Linked DNA regions of Homo sapiens: regions 2, 3 and 4 are each linked to region 1. Evidence: promoter capture Hi-C in human tissues and cell types (Jung and others, 2019). All regions are on one chromosome and are shown on one strand. Each heading gives the region's core, a stretch centred on a gene start or on the middle of the fragment in contact. The rest is flanking DNA. Distances are from core to core; before and after follow the strand shown.

Region 1 (6,326 bases), core at 2,399-4,898:
TTGTTGTAGCAAGTGGTTACCCACAAGAATGATGGAGGTTCCGGCGGCTGCTGTCTAATTTGTGTTTTAATAAAGAAACCCACATTCTTTCCCTAATTACTCAAAATGGAACAGGAACCCCCAAAAGTCTTTCCCACCATTAATGTCCTGAAACTGTTAAATCAAAATGGACTGCTTTGCCGAGTATGGCCCACAACATGGAATTTGGTACATTTCATACCCCAGTGAATTTAAATTGTATGGAGCTGATATTTAATACAAATGCAAGTACCAGTGGAATCTGCATATTTAATATTCATTCTCTAACTCTCAGAATTAAGCAGTTGATCTATGGGACACAAAGGGAGAATCCTTCTCTCAAAGAGGATATTTTATGACCAGGCAGTTTAAAAGACACTGACATAAACAACTGTTTGAGGCTTGCTCTCTTTCTTTCTCTCTCTCTCATCTTCAAAAGGCAAAAAGTACATGTAAGGACATGCTGTTTTAGACAAAGCATTTTAGAAAATCACTTGAAATGTTTTCCCTTTCCTTCAGGGACAACTAAACCTTTGATAGATACTCAAGAGAGTTCTTATAATTTAGTTTATTTCTCTTATTTTCTTAAGGGGGGTGGAAAAAGAGATAGTATGAAGGCACAAAGCTGAAGCCTACTTTCACTCGAAAGTAAAAATCATACTGCTTAAATAATAAAAGTGTTATTTATGGTTTTTACACCATGACTGAACACACCAGATTTTCTAGGACAGTGTCAATTTCAAATGTATAGCTAAGTTTAGTTTCATTATTGTGCCTTTGTGTGATTTCACCTAGACAAAGGAATGAAATAGAAAACAAATATTTTGCTACATCCCTTGCCCTAGTTTTGAATTCCTAATATACGGTCACTGTCTCCTACTCATGCTGATATTTGGAAAGCCATTATGGAAAGGACTTCATTTTTTGAGGTCATGCCTCACAAGTAAAATGTGCATCCCACATCCTTTCATTTCCTTCAAATGCTTGAGGGAGGAGGAAGGTACTGGGTGAAGACCTGCCTCATTTTCCAGAGAGAACACAGAGAGCTTCGAGTGACTCTGGAGCTGCCGCATTTCACAGGCATTTCACAGTGGTTAGTCCTGAATTTTTAGCTCTTGGACTCCAGAGTGGGCCCCCTCCACACTCTGCTCTGCTGGAAGAGTAGTTGCAGTGGAATGAGGGTCGCATGAGGCTTAGGGCTGTGCACCCTGGATGCTTTGAATTGGGTTTTAGTAGTCAGCCCACTTATTGAGTGCTAGGTGCTATCTGTGGAGTGATAAAAATATGCATGATACCATCTCTGTCTTTACAGGGCTTGAAATGTATTTAGGGAAGCCAGGCATGTATGCATGAAATAGAAAGTCACCATACAAGGCAGTGGGGCACCTGCCATTTGCTGCAGAGGACGCAGCTGAAGATAAGGACTACAGCCATTCAAGGCCCCAGGGGAGGCCAGGGCAGGACTGGGACCAGAGCCTCACCAAAGACATGGAGATCCTAGGATAAGAAGGCTGAAGGGTTAGTTTCTGGATCATCTGAAATTTGATATTTTAAAAGCTTTCTTTAAAAGACGCTTTTATAATTCTCTCTTAAAAAATTCAGCCCATTTTGTCCTTTGCCATTTTTGAATTGGGTTATAGGTCTTGTACTTATTGATTTATAAAAGCTCTTTCATTTTAGAAACATTAATAATAAATATTTTACCTAGTTAAGAAAATTTAGCTGCCAAGTGATGTCTTTTCCATATGGTGACAAATACATTAAGGAGAGGGGAAGGTCAAAATTTGTGCTTTATGATTTCTTCTTAATTTTTAAAAATTTTTAATTTTATGGGAACATAGTGGGTGTATATATTTATGGGGTACACGAGATATTTTGATACAGGCATGCAATGTGTAATAATCACATTAGGGTAAATGGGGTATCTGGCACCTCAAGCATTTAGCATTTCCTTTTGTTACAAACAATCCAATTGTACTCTTTCAGTTATTTTAAAATGTACAATATGTTTTGCTGACTGTAATAACCCTGTTGTGCTGTCAAATACCAGATCCTATTCATTCTATCTAACTCTATTTTTGTACCTAGTAACCATTCCACCCCCGCCCCTTCCTAGCCTCTGGTAACCATCATTCTATTCTCTCTGTCCATGAGTTCAATTGTTTTAATTTTTAGCTCTCACAAATGAATGAAAACATGTGAAGTTTGTCTTTCCATGCCTGTTTTATTTCATTTAACAGAATGTCCTCCAGTTCCATCCATGGTGTTGTAAATGACAGGATCTCATTCCTTTTTATGGCTGAATAGTACTCCACTACGCATATGTACCACATTTTCTTCATCTAATTTATCTGTTGATGGACACTTACATTGCTTCCAGATCTTGTCTATTGTGAACAGAGCTGCAATAAACATGGCAGTGCAGGAATCTCTTCAAGATACTGATTTCTTTTTTGGGGGTATATACCTAGCAGTGGGATTGCTGGATCAGATGGTAGCTCTATATTTAGTTTTCTGACAAACCCCAATACTGTTCTCCATAGTGGCTGCATTAATTCACATTCTCACCAGCAATGTAGGAGGGTTCATTCTCTTTTCTTCACATCCTTGCCAGCATTTGTTATTGCCTGTCTTTTGGATAAAAGCCATTTTAACTAGGGTGAGACTTTATGATTTCTTGGTGAACAAGGAAAAGTGTTTAAGCTGTCCCCACCCTTTGATGGGTATGTTCTCTCTTCACGTGCGTAGGTTGTTGATGAAAGTCTAAGCGATTAATTTAAGCCATGTCAGAATAAACCAAAGTGAGGGTCCCAGCAGAATCATTCACTCTAGAATGCTCGGCTTTCTGGACCTCCCAGTGAGAACAGTGAGAAACTCCAGAGTTTTATGGATTTTAAGAATAGCTCTTCTGAGACTCTTTGGACAGGGTGCAAAGGAAAATTGTCTCCTCAGGTTGGGGGATGAGGGGGACTGTGAGATAAAGTACTGATAGATAAACTCCAGGTATGCACCTACTATGCTCCCCAAGCAATCTGCCATGTCCTTCACATGTCCTCCAGGGTGGCCCTGTGAAAAGCATTACTCCATCCCTTCAGCCCTCAACCTTGCTCGGCTTTCTAGAGTCTGTCTCATGCCGGCAGACACCCCATAGTTATTATTCTCTCTGCCCTCAGCAACATTTACCAGTTAGGGGGAAAATAAAGCCAGAAAATTGTTGCTATGGGCTCTGTTTTGTGGAAGTTAAAATGCTAGAGCAAGAATCTGATTGCTTGATAGCTCCATCTCTCTCTCTCTCTCCCTCCTACCCTCCTACCCCCCCACAGTTTCTCCTTCTTTTCCTCTCCCCTCCACCTCCTTCCCCCACCCCGCTCCCCCACATTTTCCTACTCCTCTCCCCTCTCTCCACTGGCCTCCCGGTCCTGCCCCCACATTGGGCTGGAGGAGAGCCTTACAGGTTGTCAATGAAACATGGAATTATTTCCTTTGATGGCTTAGATAATAGTAGGAGCCAAAGCAATGAGTGAGGTCGGCTGAAACCAATGCAGTCCTGCCCGGGACTGGAGAGCCAATCGCAAGAGCAGAGGGCGGGGCGTCGGAGCCAGCAGATAATTGCTAAGTGCATCGCTAGCACAGTTGGTCCGAGCTGCCGAAAGGTCTGGTCGCAGAGACAGGAACGTGTAATCCTCAGCGTGCTCCAGCCCACAGCTTCGCTCTACTGCTCGGCAGGGCAGCTGGCCTCTGGGCACCGGCGGCCCCTCTGCCTCGCGGAAAAGGTACCTCTGCCTGCGTCCCGGGGGTGCAGCGCCTGCGTCTCCATTGCCAGTGGCTTTGCAGTTTAGCCTAGGTGGAGGGATTGCAGAAAGAAAAGTTTCTGGGAGGGAATGTGATAAAGGTGGGAAATCACTGTCTTTTGTTGGGAGGAAAACAAGCGGACAATTTGGGAAACTTCTGCGCTGGCAAGAAATGGGCTTGTTTACTACTCCTAATTAGCTGCGCTCAGGTCTGTCTAAATAGGTCTGGTCTCAGGCTAGGGTGTCTGCAGGGCTGGGGTGGAGATTCGGGTGTGCTGGGTGAAAGAAGTTGGATCCCAGGGTGTGCTGTTTCCTGGTGCACCCATCATGGATAGGCTGGTTCCGAGAGAAACGTGATTGGTTGTTTGTGTTTTCCGCTATAGGGTCTGTCCCCTTCGTATTACCTTGATCTGCCTTCCCCAAACTATTGTGACCTTCAACTGGAGTCCTTCCTCAAACTTCTGCCTCCTTCCTGCCTGTCTCAGTTCATTTTATTTGGTGGAAGGAGACATTCCCCGGGGTGGGTGGGTGAGGATGGTCTATTCTGTTTGACCTGGTGGGCACCTACGTGACAACTTGGTGACACGCCAGCAAAACAGTTCTCAGAGGAGAGGAAATCACATAATTAATTAGCTCCCGAAAACTCTGGAAGACTTTCCAGGCTTGGGGTATCCTGAAAAAAAAAAAAAAAGAAAAAGCCAAAAAACGGGATAGAGAGTTCGGTTTGGTACCATGTGAAGCTTACACCCTTGTCCCCAGAAGGGGTGCCTGGCCCGGAGCATCCCCGCAGCTCTGGGAGGTGGAGGCTGGTGGAGGGGGTGGCTCCGTGTAGGTGCGCAGGTTGTTTTGGTGCACAGGTGCATTTGTGGCAGAGGTGGTGCTGAAGTCACCATCCACACTGCTTCTGCTAACTGCTCTTGAAGTAAAACAGCTCACCCCGGCAGGCAGCTGGTTCAGCCCAGAAGCACCCTTGAGCATTCTAAATCGCGAGACCTCAGGGGCCTCTCTTGCTCTGAGACCCTTGGGAAACTCCTTTCTCCCCCTGCCTCCTCCGCCTTTGGCTTCTGCTAAAGGGAGATATTAGGTAGGTGAGTCACTAGGAAGCAGGGACCCATGGGGAAGCAGGCGATGTGCTTGGTCTCGAACTTTCTTCCTCTTCTGCGAAGGCAGCTTCTGCTTGTGTGCCCACCGCACTTCACCAGTTGCGCTGCCTACCTGCGGGATACTCTGAAGCTGATAGTCTGGGGGTGATCTTCCAAGTCCTAGGGGCATTGAAGAGTTTAGATGATTTTCATCCCTCTGATTTCCGTTAAACCCGCAGCTGGGGAGTTCGATTCCCAGTCCTGACAAGACTGCATGTTCTGGGAGGGATTCTCCAGTGACACCTCTTCCTCAGGGCACCCTTCCACGGAGATGCAGATGACAGTCTTGATTCTCCAGCTCCACAAATCCCTTCCACTTTTTAATTCTTATTTTCTTTAACCACCACAACAGATTCTCCTCCACCTCCTGTAGGCAGCTATTTTGGGTGGGAACTGTGATTATTGAAACTCTATTCACAATGGTTAAAAAAATGCCTGCCCACTTTTTTTTTGGGGGGGGTGTCAAAATACCATCAGCGTTCTCTTCTGTACTTCCTATCTGACAGTAAACAAAACAATTTTGCAGCCCTGCCAATTATAATCTTTTTGTGTTTGGGGGGCCTGGAGCGGAAGCTGAACTTTTCCCAGCCGGTGGGCATGGTTAGTCATGGACGTCGTCCTCTGTGGCCTCTCCAGGGCACGTGACCCCCAGGGAGCCCAGGAGGGGCAGCCCCCAGCACGTGGGGGATCTTGCATGAGAGCACCTTGGTTTTCATGAAGGCAGTAAGGAAACCAGAAAATGCTTTTGAGTTTGAGGATTGCAAAACTGGGGGTTCCCTTTAATTGATGCCAATCTGTTGGATTTCTATCGTGATAGGAAACATTAAAAGTAAGGCATTTGAAACAGCTCCTGAAGGGTGAGTCATGCACAGAGGGAAGAGGCAGTGTGGGGGGAGGGGGCGGAGGGGGCCTTGGAAAGTACAAGTGGGACACGCTGGAGCGCTCGCTTTCCTTCCCTCTGCCTCCTCCTCAATCCTCTTTCTTGTATTTCCCCATTCGGAACAGAGATCATTAAAATAACAACTTTAGACCAAAAAAGGATCCTAGGAGCTGAAAAATAATTGACAAAGTGCAAAACACCCTCATTACAGCTTCACCTTGGATGGGGTGAGGTGTGAAACCCAGGACCCAGCGCCTCTGCTGCGATCCAGTTTGGAGAATCTAATTGCTGGTGTTAGGCTAATTAACTCCTTGTGAAGCTGCGTGCCTGTTTGTGTATGCAAGGACCGATGAATGCCTAGGAAATTAAATGTGTTACTTGTCATTTCATCAAACATGATGGCTTTGGCCAGGACCCTGGATAAGCACTATCCACAGACCCAGCGTTTTCTCCTCTTCCCAATTGGCCAAACTGGATCTCTCTCTCTTTTAACCA
Region 2 (6,777 bases), core at 3,272-5,771, 35 kb after region 1:
TCATAATCTGACTTATGTTCACCAGGATCACTTTGAAAACAGACGCTACGGCAAGCTTGTCCAACCTGCAACCCACCAGCTGCACGTGGCCCAGATGGCTTAGAATGTGGCCCAACACAAATGCTTAAACTTTCTTAGAATATTATGATATATATATATTTCTTTTAGCTCATCAGCTACCATTAGTGTTAGTGTATTTTTTGTGTGCCCCAAGACAATTCTTCCAATGTGGCCCAAGAAAGCCAAAAGATTGCACACCCCTGCCTAAGGGGTAAGATGCAGGTGCAGAAGGTCTAGGGGGAAATCCATTGCAATAACATCGGCTAGAGGCGATGTTGCCTTCCAATGGTGGAGGCTGTAGAGATGGTGAAAAGAGATGGATACATTTTGAAGTTAGAGAAGAAGAAAGAGAAGAGTTAAGGATGACTTAGTTAGAGCATCTATACCAGTCTAGCTCTTGCAGATCTTAGTCATTCTGTGGCTAGCCATTGAGCTCACTGTGCCCTCCGAGTGCTGTCTAAATGTAGATTAGGGGGATTTGTATGCCATATGTATGTGTATAAATATGTTCACATGTTGCATGCATGCATGCATATGCATGTGTGTGTATGCATGTTTATATGTGTATCCTGTTGGATATCCACATACACAGCACTGAATTTCTTACTCGAGGACTCCCCGGGTGCTTGCCAGCTATTTACACACCAGAGAGAAGCAAAAACTCCCTCTTGCATTTGGTTGCACATTTTGCAGGTGTTGCCCTCCTCTTAATTATTCATCAACTTCCTTTCCTAACCCTCTTCTTTTAGGAACTTAGGGGGAAAAAAAGATAAAACAGCCAGATGTGAGCCCAGTCTCATCAGTAATCTATAAAACACCAAGCACACCCCACTCATCTTTCATGCTTTATGAAAAGTTAAAATTAAATCAGGGCAGCGTTATTAAGCTAAGTGATTTTTGCTTGGTTTGGATGAATTCCTATGTGTGCCACATTGTTTGTTGGAAACGTGCCTGGGGTGCCAGTGGGCTCAGAACGCACATTCACCAGCTATTAGCGGAAATGTTTCTGCTCACAATGTGGCATTTGGGGCGTCCCAGTGCCAGCCCTGGGGCACCAGCATTGTGTGCAGAACCCTTGTGCCCATAGCCCTAAGTCCTCTTGTGCCCACCAATTCTTAAAACCAGAAAGACAAGATATAGAACTAAAGCAAAGGAGTGCAGCTGCAGCCATCATCCCTGGTTTAGTGATAGATACAAATTCAAGTGAAAGAACTTTAAGGAATCACTTTCTTTCTAGGGGCCCTTGAAGGTCAGGGTTGGTGATAGTGTATTTTCGGAATGCCTTGTTCTAGGAAGGCTGTTAAACAGAATTGTTGATCCCTGCTTTCAGCCAGGAGACATTCAGAAGCACTAAGCTTGTTTGGCACTTGGCACACAGAGGGCACTCCTGGGGCCGAGGCTTTGTCGAATCCAGTCGCTTGCATCGTAGCTCTCTTTTCTTTTGAGCAGCTGGAAAGTTAGTTGGTTTGGCCTTCTAAAATCTAAAAATTGGTTGGGACGATCAGATTGCTGTTTAGCAAATGGCGGGGGGAAGAAAGAATGTCCCTTAGGGCCCAAACTTCTCCACATTCTGCGTAGTACAGTGAAAACAGCAGAAGACGGAGTCTAAAAGTCCGGGTTCGAGTCCCAGCTTTAGAAACTGAGGCTGTGTGATTGCAGGTAACCAACATTCTAAATTCCAGTTTTCTTCTGAGTGCCAGTAGAATATAAAAGGCATAATCCCTCCCACCACGGTTGCTGGGGAGAGCAGACCGTGTATTTCAATCCCCCAGCTGGCTGTGCAGCATGGCACAGATGGCAGATGGATGTTGATGGTCATTGTCCATCCTCTGAGGGTTCTGGAGCAGAGAGGCCTGGGCTCACTCATAGGGTTTCCCAGAGGCTGAAGCCACATCCTGCCTGGAAGATCCCTCTGCCATTGGTCATTTCCAACTCCTCTCCATGGCCCAGATCTGCACGGCCTAGCACAGGCTGCAGTGGTGATGCAGGCCGAATTCGGGGAAGATTTCTTTTTTCTGGAAGGTGACATTTTCAGAGGGATATCAGTCGTGGCTTGTATTTGCACCTTGTATTTTGCTTTCATGTCTTCCTTTTTGTCTTGGACTTTGTAAGGCAAAACATTGTGTGATACTCCGAAGCGAGAGAATAAGTGGCATTTGTCACTCTTGCTACAAGCCGTTGAGAATGTGTGAATGCAGCAAAAGGTTGATTCTTTCAGCCCTCACTTTTGCTGAGATATGTCCGTGCAAAAAGCGTACGTTTAAAGGGAATCTTGCATCAAAATTTGCCAGTAAGATTTAATTTCACATTTTTGCTTGACCTTGCACAGAATTCATTGAGTAAAATTCTGGGCTGTGTGCAATGTCACCCTTTTATTTAAAAAGCTGACTTCCTAAATAGAGGAAGAATTTCAGTAAGCATTTCAATAAAAGCTTTCTGAATTTTATATTTTTAGGAACTTCGTACCTCATAAATATTGGAATTTTATATCCAAATCAGCTTCAGTACATTTTCAATTTTTGAAATGTTATGACATATAGTTCAGGTTTTGGGAAATATAATTTGCTAGACTTTTTACAGCCATCTCCTCACATGCTAGAGGCTCTCTCTATGTTTTTGCTGAACTTAAAGTTATACCATCACAGTGCATAAAAATACCAGTCACTGGGGTAGGTCACAACCCAACTGTCATCACTGAGACAAAGAATTTAAAATGGAGACACTGTGGCACCTTTATGACCTGGGGTCATGATGTCATCACCAGCTCATCACTGCCACAACTGGGGTGAGTACCCAGGCCACACAGGGTATGTGTGATGCCTCACTTTTTTGTCCCTGCTACCACATTGCATTAGCTGCCAGAATCATCTTTTCCCACCTACATAGGGAGGACCTGAGGTGTGCCATCCTGGTCACCTGTCATCCTCAGACCATCTTGCGTGACACCCCAGCATTAGAGACCCACTTTTCTCAACTTCTCTCCAACTGCTTTTAAAATAAAAATGCTTTCATTTATGCAAAGTTCTAGTGACATATTAATATCAGATCTGAGGGTGTACATCCAGCATAGTAAGAGGAGAACAGGAAACTCTCAAGGAAAGAGGAATCCCAGGCGAGGTCATTTCCTGCTGATTTTCGTGGCTCAGGCAGATTGGCAAATGCCTTTCTTTCTGCTCCAAGATGAAATGGGCCAGATTTCCTGAACCCGGGAACACCCACCTCTGGTTTACGTCCATCCAAGCACAGGTCAGGTGCATTCATTAATTGGGAAAAGAATTAAGAAAGTTATTTAATCCGGGAATCAGATTCCATGCAGTGCACATGGTGACTGAGTACCTTCCCTATGTTGGACACCATGTGAGGCACAGGAGATACAGAGATAAATATGGACAAAAGTACATTCCCATTTTCTAGGACTTTATGATCTAATTGAAATAATGTGTGATAATTATTTTGATATAGGTAAGTGTTGTAATAAACTTGTGTGTGTAAAATATGAATAGTAGAGCATGAGTAGTGGTGATAGATGGCTTTACTTTGGTTTCTGACATAATGATTTTCACAAGGTCTTCCATAATTGGTATCTCATGAAAGTTAACTATTCTAATTAATTTTGAGGGTAATTTTGTGTATTCCCCTCATCAATGACTGTCCTCATATGGATTTTTAAAACTCTCTACCCCTTGTCTAGATCTTGCTATGAGCTGCTTTGCTGTGGTCCAAGCAATTAGTACTGGACATTTCTACTGGAAGCTGCATAGGAACTTTCAACTTAGCTGGTTGTGAACTGAACCCATCATCTACAGCTCTTCTCACAGCCTCCACTTCCACCTCCTCTTGTGTTCTTCTCTGCCCCAGTGAAAGGCACCACCGTTCACACCACGTGCCAGAGGGTAGTTCTTGATTCTCCTTCTCCCTTTAGCTACCTCATCAAAGGATGCCTAAGACATGCAGATTCCACTTCATACTGATTTCCTTTGTACCTCCACTTCTCCAAATTCTCCTCCATTTCTGGAACAGCCCTCCATAATCCTTCACATGGTTTAATCTACATGCTTTTACCAGTTTTTTTTTTCTCCTTTCTGAGCATTTTCCACATTGTAGCAACAGTAATACAAATCAGATCACCTCACTCCCCTACTTAAAGCTCTTCTGAGGTCCGCGCCATCCTTGGGATCACACCCAGACCCTTTCAACAAGGCTTCCATGGTGCTGCGTGGCTTGCTCACTGCTTGCTATTCCAGCCTCCGGTCTTGCCACTCTCCTCACCCTCAGATGACCTCTGCTTCACCAGAATGGATTTTTCTTTGCACTGGCTGCATCACCTGCTTCCAACCATTAGTCCTTTGCACAGGCTGTTCTTTCTTTCTTTCTTTCTTTTTTTTTTAAATTATATTTTAAGTTCTAGGGTACATGTGCACAATGTGCAGGTTTGTTACATATGTATACATGTGCCATGACAGTGTGCTGCACCCATTAACTCATCATTTACATTAGGTATATCTCCTAATGCTAGCCCTCCCCCTCCCCCCACCGCATGACAGGCCCCAGTGTGTGATGTTCCCCTTCCTGTGTCCAAGTGTTCTCATTGTTCAATTCCCACCTATGAGTGAGAACATGCGGTGTTTGGTTTTTTGTCCTTGCAATAATTTGCTGAGAATGATGGTTTCCAGCTTCATCCATGTCCCTACAAAGGACATGAACTCATCCTTTTTTATGGCTGCATAGTATTCCATGGTGTATATGTGCCAAATTTTCTTTTTTTTTTTTTTTTAATTTTTTTTTTTTATTATACTCTAAGTTTTAGGGTACATGTGCACATTGTGCAGGTTAGTTACATATGTATACATGTGCCATGCTGGTGTGCTGCACCCACTAACGTGTCGTCTAGCATTAGGTATATCTCCCAATGCTATCCCTCCCCCCTCCCCCGACCCCACCACAGTCCCCAGAGTGTGATATTCCCCTTCCTGTGTCCAAGTGATCTCATTGTTCAGTTCCCACCTATGAGTGAGAATATGCGGTGTTTGGTTTTTTGTCCTTGCGATAATTTGCTGAGAATGATGGTTTCCAGCTTCATCCATGTCCCTACAAAGGACATGAACTCATCCTTTTTTATGGCTGCATAGTATTCCATGGTGTATATGTGCCAAATTTTCTTAATCCAGTCTATCATTGATGGACATTTGGGTTGGTTCCAAGTCTTTGCTATTGTGTATAGTGCCGCAATAAACATACGTGTGCGTGTGTCTTTATAGCAGCATGATTTATAATCCTTTGGGTATATACCCAGTAATGGGATGGCTGGGTCTTACGGTATTTCTAGTTCTAGATCCTGGAGGAATTGCCAGACTGTCTTCCACAATGGTTGAACTAGTTTACAGTCCCACCAACAGTATAAAAGTGTTCCTATTTCTCCACATCCTCTCCAGCACCTGTTGTTTCCTGACTTTTTAATGATTGCCATTCTAACTGGTGTGAGATGGTATCTCATTGTGGTTTTGATTTGCATTTCTCTGATGGCCAGTGATGATGAGCATTTTTTCATGTGCTTTTTGGCTGCATAAATGTCTTCTTCTGAGAAGTGTCTGTTCATATCCTTTGCCCACTTGTTGATGGGGTTGTTTGTTTTTTTCTTGTAAATTTGTTTGAGTCCTTTGTAGATTCTGGATATTAGCTCTTTGTCAGATGAGTAGATTGCAAAAACTTTCTCCCATTCTGTAGGCTGCCTGTTCACTCTGATGGTAGTTTCTTTTGCTGTGCAGAAGCTCTTTAATTGGATGCCATTTGTCAATTTTGGCTTTTGTTGCCATTGCTTTTGGTGTTTTAGACACGAAGTCCTTGCCCATGCCTATGTCCTGAATGGTACTGCCTAGGTTTTCTTCTAGGGTTTTTATGGTTTTAGGTCTAACATTTAAGTCTTTAATCCATCTTGAATTAATTTTTGTATAAGGTGTAAGGAAGGGATCCAGTTTCAGCTTTCTACATATGGCTAGCCAGTTTTCCCAGCACCATTTATTGAACAGGGAATCTTTCCCCATTGCTTGTTTTTGTCAGGTTTGTCAAAGATCAGATGGTTGTAGCTGTGCACAGGCTGTTCTTTCAGGAGAGTTTTCTCAGTCATGATTCATCTAATTCATACCTACCGAGCACTTAGCATGTGCCAGGTACTGGACCAAGTGCTGCTAAACAAAAGAGACAGGGTCCCCCCTGGCCCTAGCAGAGTTTCAGACTAATCGAGGAGGAAGCATGAACTATTAATATGTAAATACCAATAATGATCAGTAAGAGAAAGAACAGGGACTGTAAGAGAGTGTCAGAAGCTCTGAATTTAGATTAGGAGGGGTGGTCAGCACAGGCTTCCTTGAGGAAGTGACAATGACCTTGAGATCTGCTCCTTTTTTGGGTCTGTCTCCCACCACTTCTCCTGGGAAGCTTTTCTTGGCCTTCCCGATGGTGGGTGCAACAGCCTCCTAAGGGCTCACATAGGGCCAGGTGCTTCCCCTGGTCAGTCATTGGTCCGATTGCACTGCATGTAGCTCTCCACCTCCAGACTGCAGACTCCAGGACGACCAGGCAGAGCCATGCTTGCTGCTTCTCCCATTTCAAACAGACAAGGGGTCGCTCATGAACATCTGTGGACCATTTTGGGTAAAGCCAGAAGCTCTTCCCAGTCAAGTGAGAGACATGTAGTATGTGGTCTGTGTTCTCTGCCAA
Region 3 (6,204 bases), core at 1,321-3,820, 58 kb after region 1:
AATTCAAAGTGGAATTAAGTGATGAGAAGTGCCTAGTTGTTCATGGACTTTCTATGTCACTGGCAGGTGAGGATGACTTGTAAATCACTGCTTTCTCTTGACCCCCAAATCAAGTGGAAGAGTGCAGGCAGGCACTGTGCAAGGCTGGGTGGACTGCAGCCTGCAATCGGCTTTGACTTTTCTGACTGTGAAATCCGGAATTCTGTCAGAGCCACAAATTATTTCTCCTTTCAGCAATTGAAAAGAAAGAAAGATAACTGGAAGATAACTGGAGTGCTTTAATAAGGATTACAAGACCCTTGAAGGAAATGCTAAGCCAACAATTTGATTTAAAAGCTCTGGAAAGACCCCCGGATTTGGAGTCCGGAAACGTGGGCTTGAATCGCTGCCCTGTTTCTGCAAGTTCACTGTGGTCTGAATAGTGGATGAGGCCATGGGAGGGTATAGCTCAGAACAGAGGTGCACTTGGTGGGCAGAGGGACAGTTGATGCACTTGCTTAGTCCCTTGGGGGACCACCATTGCTGCCCCCAGGAGCCACACTTGCTTCTTTTTCTTAGCATCACCTACAGGTTCAGGTGCCTCACCTATAGGAGGGCCTTGTGGGGCTTGGGGGAGGGAAGACCTAATACTTTCTACCCAGACCTGTTTCTGATCACAGAGGCATCATTTTCTAATCAGAAAGTGGAGCTCCTCCCTTGGCTCTAGACACTGGAATGTCTACACCTGTGGGCACGTGCTGCCAGGCTCTTCCTGGAGACTGTTCTGCCCCAGGAGAGTGCAGAAGCGCATCCTGCAGGTGATCTCTTTAGGACCACCCTCTGGACTCTTCTTAACAATGTTCAGGGTAAGACCCAAAATAGAAACAGGGAGTTCTACTGGGAAGCAATAGATTACACTAGTGCATTTTACTTTTATTACTCCATTCCCAGTGCATTTTATCTTGTTATTTTATCAGTTTATTATTATCGGGCTAAAGTGCTTAGAATGGTGCTGGGTGCTGAGTACAGAGAAGAGAGATACTTTTTGCCTCTAAGGGCTCACAGTCTAGAGGAAGAGCAGGCAGCCAAGCACAGCATTGCAGGGGTGTACGACACCTGTCGGGCGTGCACACCTATGGGGGTGCACAGGGAGCCTGGGAGCCTGGGGAGGGGGCACTGACCCAGCTTGGGTAAGAGGAGTAGGGGGATGTCTCAGAGAGGCAATGCTTAGCACATGACAGATGCAGAGGAGAGAACACAGTCTAGCATTTAACAAGACGTGGAAGGGACAGGGAGCAGGCACATTTGTTGGTGGCAGGGGGGCGGCCTCTGGAGTGGCTGGGATTGGTTGGTCGTGCAGCTGAGCTGGAGGCCTTGCCTGGTCCCAGATGCATTTACATCCAGTAGGAGTTAGCAGTTACTCAGGTTTCAAACTGGCTCTTATCAGAAACTGAGGGGTAGGCTGAGGTCCTGGGGAGAGTGCAACCGCCACTGGGGCCAGCTCCTCATTTGGAGAGTTCACCGCAAAACACTTTAGACTCTACTACGTTTCACCCTGGAGTCATGCTGCAGATCGAATGACGTTGCCAAGGACCGTTGTTCCTATAGGACTAAGTAGCCTGTGATGTTGCTCTTCTTTTTGCCCCTGACGCCAGCATCCAACAGGGTTCTATTGTACACAGTTTCCATTATGTGGGGCTCCACAGAAAATTAGCCGAAGAACTCCCCCGGGTGCCAGGTGGCTTGTAATATCTCATTAGGAATGGCTGTGTGGGAAGAAACAATATTTTTAGCAGTGGGTAGGAAGTGTTATTGAAATATGACTTCTTTGACATTATGGAACTTAGAATCATCGGTTCAAGTCAGATGGTACTATAGTAACTGTAACTACATTGGGGACTGAGATCAAAAGAATGGGAACCAGAATTCGGCACTAGCTTATTTCTCTCTTTTGCATATGATTAAGCAGTATTGAACCTATCTCAGAATACAGCATCACCAGAAACAATGCCTTGCCTAGTACTGCATAAATGCTACTCAGACAATACGTTTCTGGACTCCTGGAGGAGTTCTGAATCTTTGGGAATGGATCTGCTCTCTGACTAACGGAGGTAGCAGGTTGCCAATGTCTAATGAGGTGAGGTCCACAGTAGGGCTGTGTGAGCTCTGCTTCATGGGGAGGTGAGTGAGAAGAAATGCCACAGTCAGGGTTTGCCAGGGAAGAGACTTTGCAGAGTTTAGTGCTCAGGGTGCCTACCGGGTGGCTCTTGGGAGGGATATCTGTGGAGGGAGGAGCAGAAGCAGGATTGGAAAGAGGGAGAAACTGGGCTTTGGTGCAGGTATAGTAGCCTCAGCCAACTGCATGGGGAGTCGTGGAGCTGAAAAGGCCCATCAGGGTTGGTCCATGTTGTGTTGCACTGACTGGGCTTTTTCACCTTTGCAGCTGTCAGTTAGTAGCCATGGGTGCCCCGGAGGAGTGTGATTTTGGGGGCATGGCTCTCTGAAGCAAGCCGTTCCTGAAGGGACAGGCTGCTGAAGGCTGAGTGCCAACTGTATTCTCAGCAAATAGAGGCAAGCATTTCTTCCTTGAAAGGGCACCTCAGCCATGCATCTCCCTTGTCCACCACAAGATTTCCAAGTACTTATTTTAATGTGAGTCCAGGCCACTCCATCAGTAGGCATCTCACAGCCCACTGACTTGGGAGGATCACCACTTAGTTTTGTTTGGTGGGAAATAGGAATTACTGCTTATAACAGGAATTGCCTTTTAAAATTCATACAAATGTATGGGGTACATGCACAGTTTTGTTACATGCATAGAATGCATAGTGGTAACATCAGAGCTTTTAGGTTAGCCATCATTCATTAACTAATTTCTCATCATCCACCCCCTCACTCTTCCAAGACTTCATTGTCTTTCACTCCACACTCTATGTCCATGTGTTATACATTTTTTAGCACCTACTTATGAGTGAGAACACGCCTGGCTTTTGACTTTCTGTGCCTGGCATGTTTCACTTAAGATATCGACCTCCAATCCATTCATGTTGCTGCAAAAGGTGTGATTTCATTCTTTTTATGACTGCATAGTATTCTATGGTAAACCACATTTTCTTTACCAATTCATTCATTGATGGACATTTAGGTCGATTCACTGTCATGACTAGTGCTGTAATAAACATACAAGTGCAGGTATCTTTTTGGTATATTGATTTCTTTTCCTTTGGGTAGATACCTGGTGGTGGGATTGTAGCTAGCACTCAGTTTGAGGTGGAATCTGTACTTAAATGTACTTTCCAATTTGACCTTAACATCTTCACGTCTCACAAACCTCTGGGCTTTGCCATTCTAGACAAAATGCTTACTTGTAAGTTTCTGGAGGGTGGCAGAAGAGGCAAGGCACACCTGAGCACAGCTGCCTGTCGCTGGCCCTTGCTTTCGTCTCGCCAGCCTCTGGGGATCTGACCTGGAAGGTGGTCTTTTTAGGCATCTCTGCACCATTGCTTCTGCTGGTCAGAGTCACAGAGGGCTTGTTTCTCCAAAGCTTAAAAAGGTGTTTTTGGTTTCTGCCTGCCCAAGGTGATTCTTCAAAGGAAGGTAGTAAATATTCTGGAAGAGGCAGTGAGCTGCAGGGAAAGAACATTATTTCAGGAGTTAGAGATCTCCATTTTGCCTTTTATGTACAGGGTACATTTGGATAAGTTTCATCACTTTCCAGGGTGTCTTTTCCATATTATTTGGGAATGTGAAAGGGTGAGATTAGATGGTCCTTATGGCCCTTTCTGGTGCTGTGATGTTTTCATTCTTATCTCCATCATTAATGTGACCTCATTCTCTCTAAGCCACTCAGTTCCAATTGCCTTCATGTCCCGCCCCTTTATTTTGGCCTCTTCACCTTCCAAATCCTTCCTTCACTGTCCACCTAACTGTTCATGTCTTTTGTTTCCTTCCAGCTCTTCCCTGATGCTGGTCTTCTTTCCCCCACCTGGCAAGCGTGAGAGGGTGTTAGGAGGGGCAGGGCTGGTGGCATTGACTGAGAGTCAGTCTGGCCATGGTAGGTGGGCAGGATGGTTGAAGACACCAATAGTTCACTGCCAGGCTTAAGCAGAGCTGACGAGGAGAGTGAGGAGTGCATTAGAAGGGTATCACCCCCAGCCTGGGCAATATAGTGAGACCCCATCTTAAAAAAATCAAAAAGTTAGCTGGGCATGGTGGCACACACTTGTAGTCCCAGCTACTCTGGAAGCTGAGGCAGGAGGTTTGCTTGAGCCCAGGAGGTTGAGGCTACAGTGAGCCATGATCATGCCACTGCACTCCAGGCTGGGTAAGAGAGCAAGACCCTGTCTCAGGAAATAAAAAAATAAACAAAAGAGGGGCATCACCAGCTCACAGTGATGCTTCCGTGCTTTCCCCAGAGCCAGGAACTTCCCAGCCAGGGAATGAATCTATATCAATGCAGTCTCATTTCCTGGAAACTGGCCAACTGCTGCTCACCTCAGCTAAAAGGCGTGAAGAACGGATTTGAGGGAAGAATTTGACAGTGTAACTACATTAAGCGGTGGAGTGATGAGATGTGTGCCTCCTCCCCAGCATCAGGGCTGTTGCCAGATGGCCCAGCTGTCTGTCATCTCTGGCGAGGTGACAAGACCCTGCGACTTCGATGTGTGGCACTTGATCATTACCTGGCATCCCAGTGGTCAGGGCCATCTGCTCCGTTTGCCCCTCACAAGATGGCAAAGCAGATTCTGCAAGGCACCAACACCAATGTGCCAGGGGTGAGGAGCATGGGTCTGTTCCAAACCAGAGAGAAACAGAGCAGACTTCTTGGCAGGTGCCACTGGTACCTGAGAACATCCTCCTGGTTGGCTCATCTGTAAAGATGCTCCCAGCCCGTGTACCAGGACACACGCCTTGTCCTGCGATGATACTCTGCTTTCCCACGAGTTGCTTGATTTTAGCCCCCAGAAGCCACACTCTGTTCAAATGAGAAATCGAGCGGTACTGACCTGAATGAGCATTCTCAGTGAGGTCTGCACTGTTTAGTGCCATGACCCAGAGAGCTGAGCTGGAGAGACAAGAGATTAGGTTTGGTCTCTGGACTCTCAGACCCTTGAATATCTCTGGCTTTTTCCAATGCTCCCCTACAAAGCACATAAGAGGTTTCACTGGGTAAAAAGTGCACTTTGTGTATTCTTTTTCCCCAGCCATGCCAAGTGACTCAGGTTCAAGTAGAGTTAGTTAAGGTCATGCTGGATAAATCCTGGAATCATAGTGGCTTAGTGCCTTAGAGGTTTAGTTCCCATTGACACAAAAGTCCAGTGGGCACCAGGGGTTGGGGAAAGGGAGTTCTGCTCCACACAGTCATCCAGGAACCAAGACTTTCAGAGACCCTGCCTTCTTTACCATGTGGCTTCCAAAGTTGAGCAGGACTGCAACGTCCAGCCTGCAGAAGGAGAGGAGGTTAGATCAAACAGCAGGTTTTTAAGGGCCAGGCCTGGAACTGTGTCCATCATTTTTGTGCACATTTCATCAGCCAGAACTCAATTATGTGGTGCAGTAACTGCAAAGGAGGCTGAGAAATTCAGTCTGATCTTTTGTGGCCAGGAGAAAGGAAAAAAACAATGTCTCTATTGCAGAGGGTGTGGAAGATTCATTTCTAGAAAATCGTCTCTCATCATTATTGTGTACATGGTATCTATCCAGCCATTATTTGTCTATGTATGTATCTATATTTCTGTCAATCAATCCATCATCTATCTAGTTTCTATCTACCTATGTTTCTATCTATTTATCTACCGATCATCATCATCTCACTATCACTAACATCAGTTACCGTCGTTAATAACAGAATGAGCACCCGTACAACATCTTCTAAAGCAAAGCTGAGATCTGGCAACCGCTTACATCTGTCCATGTGTTTCTCTCTCATCCCTTCTGTCTCCCCAACCTAAGGCAATCATCATCCTGAATCTTGTCCTCATTTCTCTGCCAAACATTTTTAGAGTTGTATCTTTTCTACATGTATGCCCAAGATGTCTATATTTTCATTTCAGTTGTTTTTGACTTTATAAAAAGGATCTTGTAGATGTGATCTTCTGATTCAAATTCTTCATGTAAATATTAGATTGCTATGATTCGTCTGTATTCTGGTTTGTTGCTGTGACTGTACCTCAGTTTATTCATCCACTCTCCTGTAGGTGTGCTTTTGGGCTGATTACAGGCTTT
Region 4 (7,127 bases), core at 4,536-7,035, 49 kb before region 1:
CGGTGTTTCTCCTGATTTTCAGATCATTGTGTCGTATTCTGCCCCCAACCATGGGTTCTTCTATCTGCCCCCTAAACTTGGGGTTCCTAAGGGCTCCACCTTCAGCCCTTTCTCTTCTCACTTCCTACACTTCCCGAGGGATTAATATGACCCATATGCTGAGGGTGCACAGATATTCATCTCCAGCTGCACTTCCCTTCCCAACTCCAGACTCCTCCTGGGTGGCTCCACATGGATGCTTCCCAGGAGACCCAGAGAAGCGAGCAAACCAATCACAGAATCCCATCTTTGGGGAAAGTCTATTTCCTGAGACCACCTGGGTACTAGCAACTATACCAGTCAAGATGTAGTATTTATTAGAATGAATGGAAAAGCAGAGAATAAGCACTCAGATAACCAGAGGAAGCATTTACTGCAGCACCGCAGGGGGAATGAAGGAAGAGATTGCTGCTAATGGAACCCAGAAAGTTTGAGCAGAGCTGAGGAGAGCTGAGACTCAGACTCTGCAGAGGGCACAGCCAGCTGGGGGTGAAAACTCAGCAGAAGCCACAGAGCTGGGAGTCAGGCCTCTGAGGAGGGACCCTGACCGGCTGGTGCTGCTATTTCTGAAGGGATACAGGGGGCTGATTCTTGGGGCTGAAACTTCAGCATCTTCTGCTGCTGCCTGGAGAATGAACCATTGCTGGCACCCTGGAGGGGAAAGGTGCGTCCTCTCCTCCTCCAGCCTTCCGTTACCCTCTAGCGGCCCCTGTTGGTAGAGCCTGGTGGGGACCCCTCCAGAAAGGGAGCAGTGGTTTTCAGATTTCACAAGGATGAGTTTGGAGGTGAACTGATGATTAACGTTCTGTCATTCACCTCTGAACCTGCTCCTTCCGCCATGTATTTCAACGTGCTAGGTAATGATTTGTCTGCTCATACTCCACGCCAGAAAAGTGAAGTCATCCTGGACTCCACTCTCTCATATCCCATAGCCAATAAATTTGACTTCCTATTTACTTATTTATTTATTTATTTATTTATGTAGAGACAAGGTCTTGCTCTGTCTTCCAGGCTAGCCTGTAGCGGTGCGGAATGAGACCCCATCTCCAAATAAATAAATAAATACATTTGTTTCTTCCTGTATGTCCCCAGTGCCTCTGCACTTTTTTTTTTTTTTTTTTTTTTATGGGGTGTCACTCTCATCCAGACTGGAGTGCAGTGGCATGATCATGGCTCACTGCAGCCTCGATTTCCCCAGGCTCAGGTGCTCCACCCACCTCAGTTTTTGTATTTTTAGTAGAGATGGGGTCTCACCATGTTGCCCAGGCTGGTCTCGAATTTCTGGGCTCAAGCAATCCACCCACCTCGGCGTCCCAAAGTGCTAGGATTACAGGCATGAGCCATCGCACCTAGTCTTTTTTTTTTCCTTTTTCCTTTTTTTTTTTTTTTTTTTTTGCTAGAGAAAGTGTTGGTTTTATTATTCAAAGAATACTTTGGAAATGACACATAGACACCAGTGTCATTTTGGAAATGACACAAATGACAATTGACCAACTAGTTTGCCTTGCATTTTTATTTCAGTTTTGTAAAATATATCGAAAGGTAGATGGGTTTGCACTCATTTTGACCCTTGTCATCATCAAACTGAGCAACTGCTGCAATGCCTTTTACCTGATCTTTTTGACTCTTTTGTTGTTCCTTGCAAGCCTAAGTGTTCTTTTTAAAATGCTAATTGCTAACACTGCGTCCGTGTTGCACACCTGTTTATGGCTCTTCTTCACGACATAAGATGCATTCTAAGACTTTATCACCCTGCCTTTGCCTCCCTCTTCATCATTAACTTCCTCTCACCTTCTGCTTTCTCCATGCACGTGGTCCCAAGCACTGCACTCTCACTCCCCGTCCGTGTCGGTAAGTGGGTTCCCTCTTTGAAATGCCTACCTATCATCCCATATCCAGGCTGCCTGGCAATCTCCTTCTCATGCTCTTAAATCTGGCTACTGTTGCCTTTCCTGAGAAGCCTTCCCTAATCTCCCAGGTTAAGTTGATCTTTCATTTCTTTGTGATCATGGCTTGTTTCCACCATGTTATTGACCACACTGAATTTTGTATTTTCATTTATGAATCTGACTCCAGATCTGAATTAGGATTATATTCAGCAGTAAGTGACAGCAAATCAAAAAAGACAGTAGCTTATACAGTGTCAGTGCTTATTTCCACATAGAAGTCATGTGCAAGTCGGCAGTGCCTGGTCAACATGGCTTCCCTGGCCCAGGGAGATGGGGGGCTTACCTTGTTGATCCACTTCCCTTAATGCACAGCTTCCACTTCCTGGTCCACAATGGCTATTCTAGCTCAGCCTGTTAGGTTTGCCTTCTGACCAGCAGAGAGGAGAAACAGAGGGGGAAGGACACATCTCCTTGGTCCAAGGCCACTTCCTCCCCAGACTCAAACTTGTAAGAACAGGGTTATGTTAGTTTGCCAGGACTGACATAAAAAATTACCAAAAACTTGTGGCTTAACACAACAGAAACTTATTCCCTCACTGTTTTAGAGGCCAAAAGTCTAAAATCAAGGCATCTGCAGGGCCGTGCTCCCTTTGAAGGCTCTAGGGAAGGACTCATTCCTTGCCTTTCTCCCATGCTTTAGTGGTTGCTGACAATCCTTGGTGTTTTATGACTTGTAATGCATCACTTCCATCTCTGCCTCCACCTTCTTTCTGTGTCTTCACATGGCCTTCTCATACAGATACCAGTCATCGAATTTAGGGGCCACCTTAATCCATGGCAACCTCATCTTAACTAGTTACAAATGCAAAGACTCCATTTTCAAATAATGTCACCTTCCGAGGTTTTGTGTACATATGAATTTTGGGAGGACACTATTCAACTCATTACAAGGTTCTTATCTCTTCATCTTGCAACATGAGGCACCATGTCTAGAATACAGAAGGAGCTTAACAAAAGCTTTTAGAATTGAATACAACTGATTACTGGCTTCCAAGGTGTTTGGTTTCAGTTCTCTTCAATTAACATTCACTGAGTTCCTTTTTCCACAGGGCTGGTTAATCATTTTATAATATTTTCCCATGAAAAATTAGAATCAAGTCAGCATGGGATGATTTCCTGGTAATTTATCCAAATTATATACCACTTTATCCTGGTAAAGTGAAATAATACTTTGAAACATTAGGACAAAATTATAACAAAATGTAGTCATCCCTTTCCCATTCCTCAGTCCTGCTCCCTAAATGCAACTGCTGTGAACTCTTCCAGCTGGGTCTTGAGGTATTGAACTCCATGTTTCTAAGTAACATATGCTCACCACAATCCTTTGGGTCATCAGTTTTAGGCATTGCAGTTGACCTGCCAGGGTCCCACCTGGTCCCTTGGACCTTATCCCTCAGTGCGGCTTGCCTACTTCTAGCTGGCAATATCTTCATCTCTTTGCCGGAGAATTTTCTTCAAAGACTGCTCACCTGTGCACAGGAGCAGGCATGAAATGTCAGGCAATTTCCTCAAAAGCAGATCCAACCTAGCAGGGCTTGGTGTATAAATCCCCCCACTCCCTCGCCCTTGTGGTGGGCTAACTCAGGCAGGTGCTGCACCATTCTCCGGAGCTTCTCTGAGGGATTGAGACATAGTCTGCTCAAGGGGTTTCTGGTTGATCATGCACCATTATTGGTGGCTTCCCTTCCTGTCACTCTCTCCACTCCTCTATGGTGTTTTCTGTATCTCCCAAGTAAGCTTTTTAAAAATACCTTTTATTGTAGTAAAATGCACAGAACATTTATCATCTTAATCATTTTAAGTGTACAGTTGGGTGGCATTAAGTACATTGTTGTGCAACCATCACCAACATCCATCTCCAGCACTTTTCATCATCTCCAACTGAAACTCAGTGTCCATTAAACAATAACTCCCCATTCCCTCTCTCCCTCAGGCCCTGGCAATCCCTTCAAATAAGATTTTGCATTAATTCTTGTCTCTGGGTCTGCTTCAGGAGAAACTCAAGCTAAGACAGACATTAATTATTGATTTTCTGTCATGGTAATTCATTCATGACTTTATTCAACTAGTATTTATTAAAAATCTCCAAGGTGGCAAGCAATAGTCTATAAGTTACATGTATCTGTTAGAAAATGTTTTGAAGAAAAATAAAGCAGAGTAGGATGATAAGAGTGCTACAGTTTGGGGGATCATTATTGCTGATACATTGGACAAAAGAAGAGACATTTAAACAGGGACTTGAATGAGATGAGTGAGTGGGCCTCGTCCTCTCTGGGGAAGGGAGTTCTAGGCAGAGGCACCTGCTAGTGCAAAGGCCCAGAGGTGGGAATAAACTTGGATAAGGATTCAGCATTCTTATTCTTCCCACCTGCAGGCATATACTTCCCTTTCAATCTTCTCAGTACAGTTATAGCACATGCTTTGGATAAGTTAATAGTTGATTATTCAATTATTTGGCTTATGAAAATATTGTTGACTGCTAACCCATCCAATGTACAAATTTTTTTCTTGTATAAACTTTTGTTTTGTTTTTCCTGGAGCTAGACATGCTTTTCATGTGCTTAGTTTAGCATAGGTAAGAATTTTATCAGAGAAGCAGAACCACTAGGGTTTCTAAAAGTTATTATTATGAGTTCTCCTTTTTTTCCTGGATATCTTCCCCCTGAAGCTTTCTGTTTTTCTGTCCCTTCTCTAGTTATGGCACATGGGACATGGCTGTCCTTCTGGGACTTCTCTCCCGTTTCTCTGATGTGTCACTCATTTCCTGCATCCAGTCTTCTTCTTTCTTGGCTCACTCCCCCCATCTATCTGTTTATTGGTATGTATGCACGTGTTTATTGCTGCAACTCATCTTCTGGTAGCTTCTAGAAAATAGTGCATGAGAGATAGAAGCAAATCTACCTTCAAATTTGGTTGACAGTTTAAGTATTTAATTCTGAACTAAAAGTTATTTTTCCCCTCAGAACTTTAAAGAAATTGTCCCACAGCCTTCTAACATCTGATGAAATTCTTGAGAAATCCAATGTCATTCATATCCCTAGTTCATTGCATGTAACCTACCTTCCTTCCTTCCTCCCTTCCTTCCTTCTTTCCTTCCTTCCTCTCTTTCCTACTTTATTTTGATTATTATTTTTATCCACATGTTGTAAAGTTTCATGTTAAGGTTCTTTGCTGTGAACCTTTTAAAATTCATTGCATTGGTTATTAAATAGGCCCTTTTAATCTGCCCAGATAGGAATTTTTCCATATTATTTCTTTGTTAGTATCATCTTATTCATTTTTTTCTCTTCTCTATGGGACTTCTATTAGTTAACTCTTGGTCTCCCTGAATTGCTCATTGAATTTTCCTCCTTGCCTCTCCATAGCTCATCTGTTTGTTCCTCCTCTTCCTCCTCCCCTTCTACTTCTTCCATTTTTAAAGTATTTTCTGGAATAGTTCCTTGACTTTATGAACTCTTTTATTGATTAAACAATGTTTGATGTTCATAATTTTATTATTTCATTTTTTAATAGAGTTTCTTATTCTCTAATTGCTCCCATTTTGCTATTGGGGCCCTCTGTTCTCATTTCATGGTGTCATTTCTTTTTTGTATCTCTCTAAAGATATTGATAGTCTTTGGAGCTTCTTGTCTGTTCTTCGTATAATCTCTGCTTCCTGATTTAAAAAATAATTTGTTTTGATCTTCATATTAGATTCTTTCCTTAAAAAAATCTGTTGATACTTTGCTGTCTGTTTACATTTTGAAATTATTAAGGACTCAAGGGTTGATGTGAGGCTCTCTGATTGCAACAGGGCACTGATTCTGGACTTCACGGTAGGGTGGTGGGGCTGAAAACTGACTTTTCCCTTGAGAGACACTCAACTGTATCTGTACATATACTCAGGACTTTCTGTTTGTTAGCATAGAATTCTGTTTCTTGAATATTTTCCCATCTCCTGTCTGGCCACTGGCATTTGGGGACTGGGGCTGGAAGAGGATGGTGAGGAGTGAAGGAGGATGAAGGTGTCTTTGTTCTGTAGACAGAGATCATTCAGCCCCTCTCTTCAGCCTGGCAGCTGGCCCATGTCTGCCTGTGGGCCTCAGGGGCCCTTTTCTGAGGTTCACCCTGCAGGGCCAAGGAAGGGCCATTCCTTGGCTGTGCAGCGTATGGGGAGGGGATTTAGGAGCCTGACTACTCTGTATGAAAGCTTTCAGACAGGTCTCTTTTTAGTCTCTTCTCTTGCCCCACTTTCCCTCGGAACTCAATGCTTTCATTCTGGGCCTCCCAGGGTCCTGCAGTGAGCGGCGAGCTGCCCAGCCTCCCTGGCCTGTGTGGGGGTGCACCGCTCTTTCGCCCGCCATTTGACTTCTGGAATCTTGCTGCTGTCTCTCTGCTGCTATAAATTATTCTCTTCTCATTGTCTTTGTAGATTTACTCCTCTTTTATTACTTTCTTATGATATTACTACTATTTCGGGAGAGTAGGTATAAATGCTTATGCTCATTTCACCTAGTTAGCTGGAAATTCGCCTATTTTGCCATGCTGATTTGCATGAACAGTTGGTGGCTAATGCTATTCACTGCACTTTAGACTGTTCTCCACAGAATGTGTGCAGGGCTCCTGGCAACAGCAGAATAACGCAACGTTGAAGACCTTGAGCTCTGGCCTGTTTGCTTGGAGAAGTCACATCCTCTTTGTTTCTCAGTTTCCTCATGTGTGAAATGGGGATTATGATAGTTCTGACCTTAGAGGTAAATTAGATAATGCTTGTAAAATGCTTTGCTGTTTTGAGCACAGAATAGCTGTTCAATAAATTGGAGCAATTATTGTTATGAATACAATTAATGTATCCATGTATTACTCAGTGATAAGAATGTCTTGCAAACACTATTACTATAGCTGAGATAGGACCCAGTAAGAAAAAGACTCAATATTATAGACAGAAGCCCCTAATAATTCCAACCAAGCAAGGTATTTATTAAGCACCTAATGGATACCAGTGTTATGCTAAGCACTGTGGAGAACACAGAGAACAGTATTCAGATGCAGAGTCTGTCTTTAGGGAGCTTGCCATTCAGCTGGGGAGAACATTTAAAGAAGAGCTAAGACCTAAGTCATAAGTTACTGGTCAAAGTAGAATAGAGACAGAAGGGAGAA

The links. Contacts are between HindIII fragments. The study calls those that stand out against the background at their distance.
Region 2: a fragment that was not itself captured here is called in contact with the fragment with the promoter of ZMAT4 in region 1 in 3 of the 25 tissues and cell types used here (dorsolateral prefrontal cortex, hippocampus and thymus).
Region 3: a contact is called between a fragment that was not itself captured here and the fragment with the promoter of ZMAT4 in region 1, in 4 of the 25 tissues and cell types used here (bladder, dorsolateral prefrontal cortex, mesendoderm cells and 1 more).
Region 4: a fragment that was not itself captured here is called in contact with the fragment with the promoter of ZMAT4 in region 1 in 1 of the 25 tissues and cell types used here (hippocampus).

What each region holds. Positions count from the first base shown.
Region 1 is chr8:40,895,148-40,901,473 of GRCh38, reverse strand. It overlaps ZMAT4 (zinc finger matrin-type 4), which reads left to right and starts at 3,648. Exons shown (of 7, transcript NM_024645.3): 1 at 3,648-3,791. The HindIII fragment of the contact is 9,161 bases long and covers 1-6,326 here.
Region 2 is chr8:40,860,642-40,867,418 of GRCh38, reverse strand. The region is part of intron 1 of ZMAT4 (zinc finger matrin-type 4); the gene reads left to right. Among named protein-coding and RNA genes, the nearest start is that of ZMAT4, 34 kb to the left of the region's middle. The HindIII fragment of the contact is 5,134 bases long and covers 1,955-6,777 here.
Region 3 is chr8:40,836,483-40,842,686 of GRCh38, reverse strand. All of the region lies in intron 1 of ZMAT4 (zinc finger matrin-type 4), which reads left to right. Among named protein-coding and RNA genes, the nearest start is that of ZMAT4, 58 kb to the left of the region's middle. The HindIII fragment of the contact is 9,455 bases long and covers 1-6,204 here.
Region 4 is chr8:40,945,385-40,952,511 of GRCh38, reverse strand. No RefSeq gene overlaps it. Among named protein-coding and RNA genes, the nearest start is that of ZMAT4, 51 kb to the right of the region's middle. The HindIII fragment of the contact is 3,187 bases long and covers 4,192-7,127 here.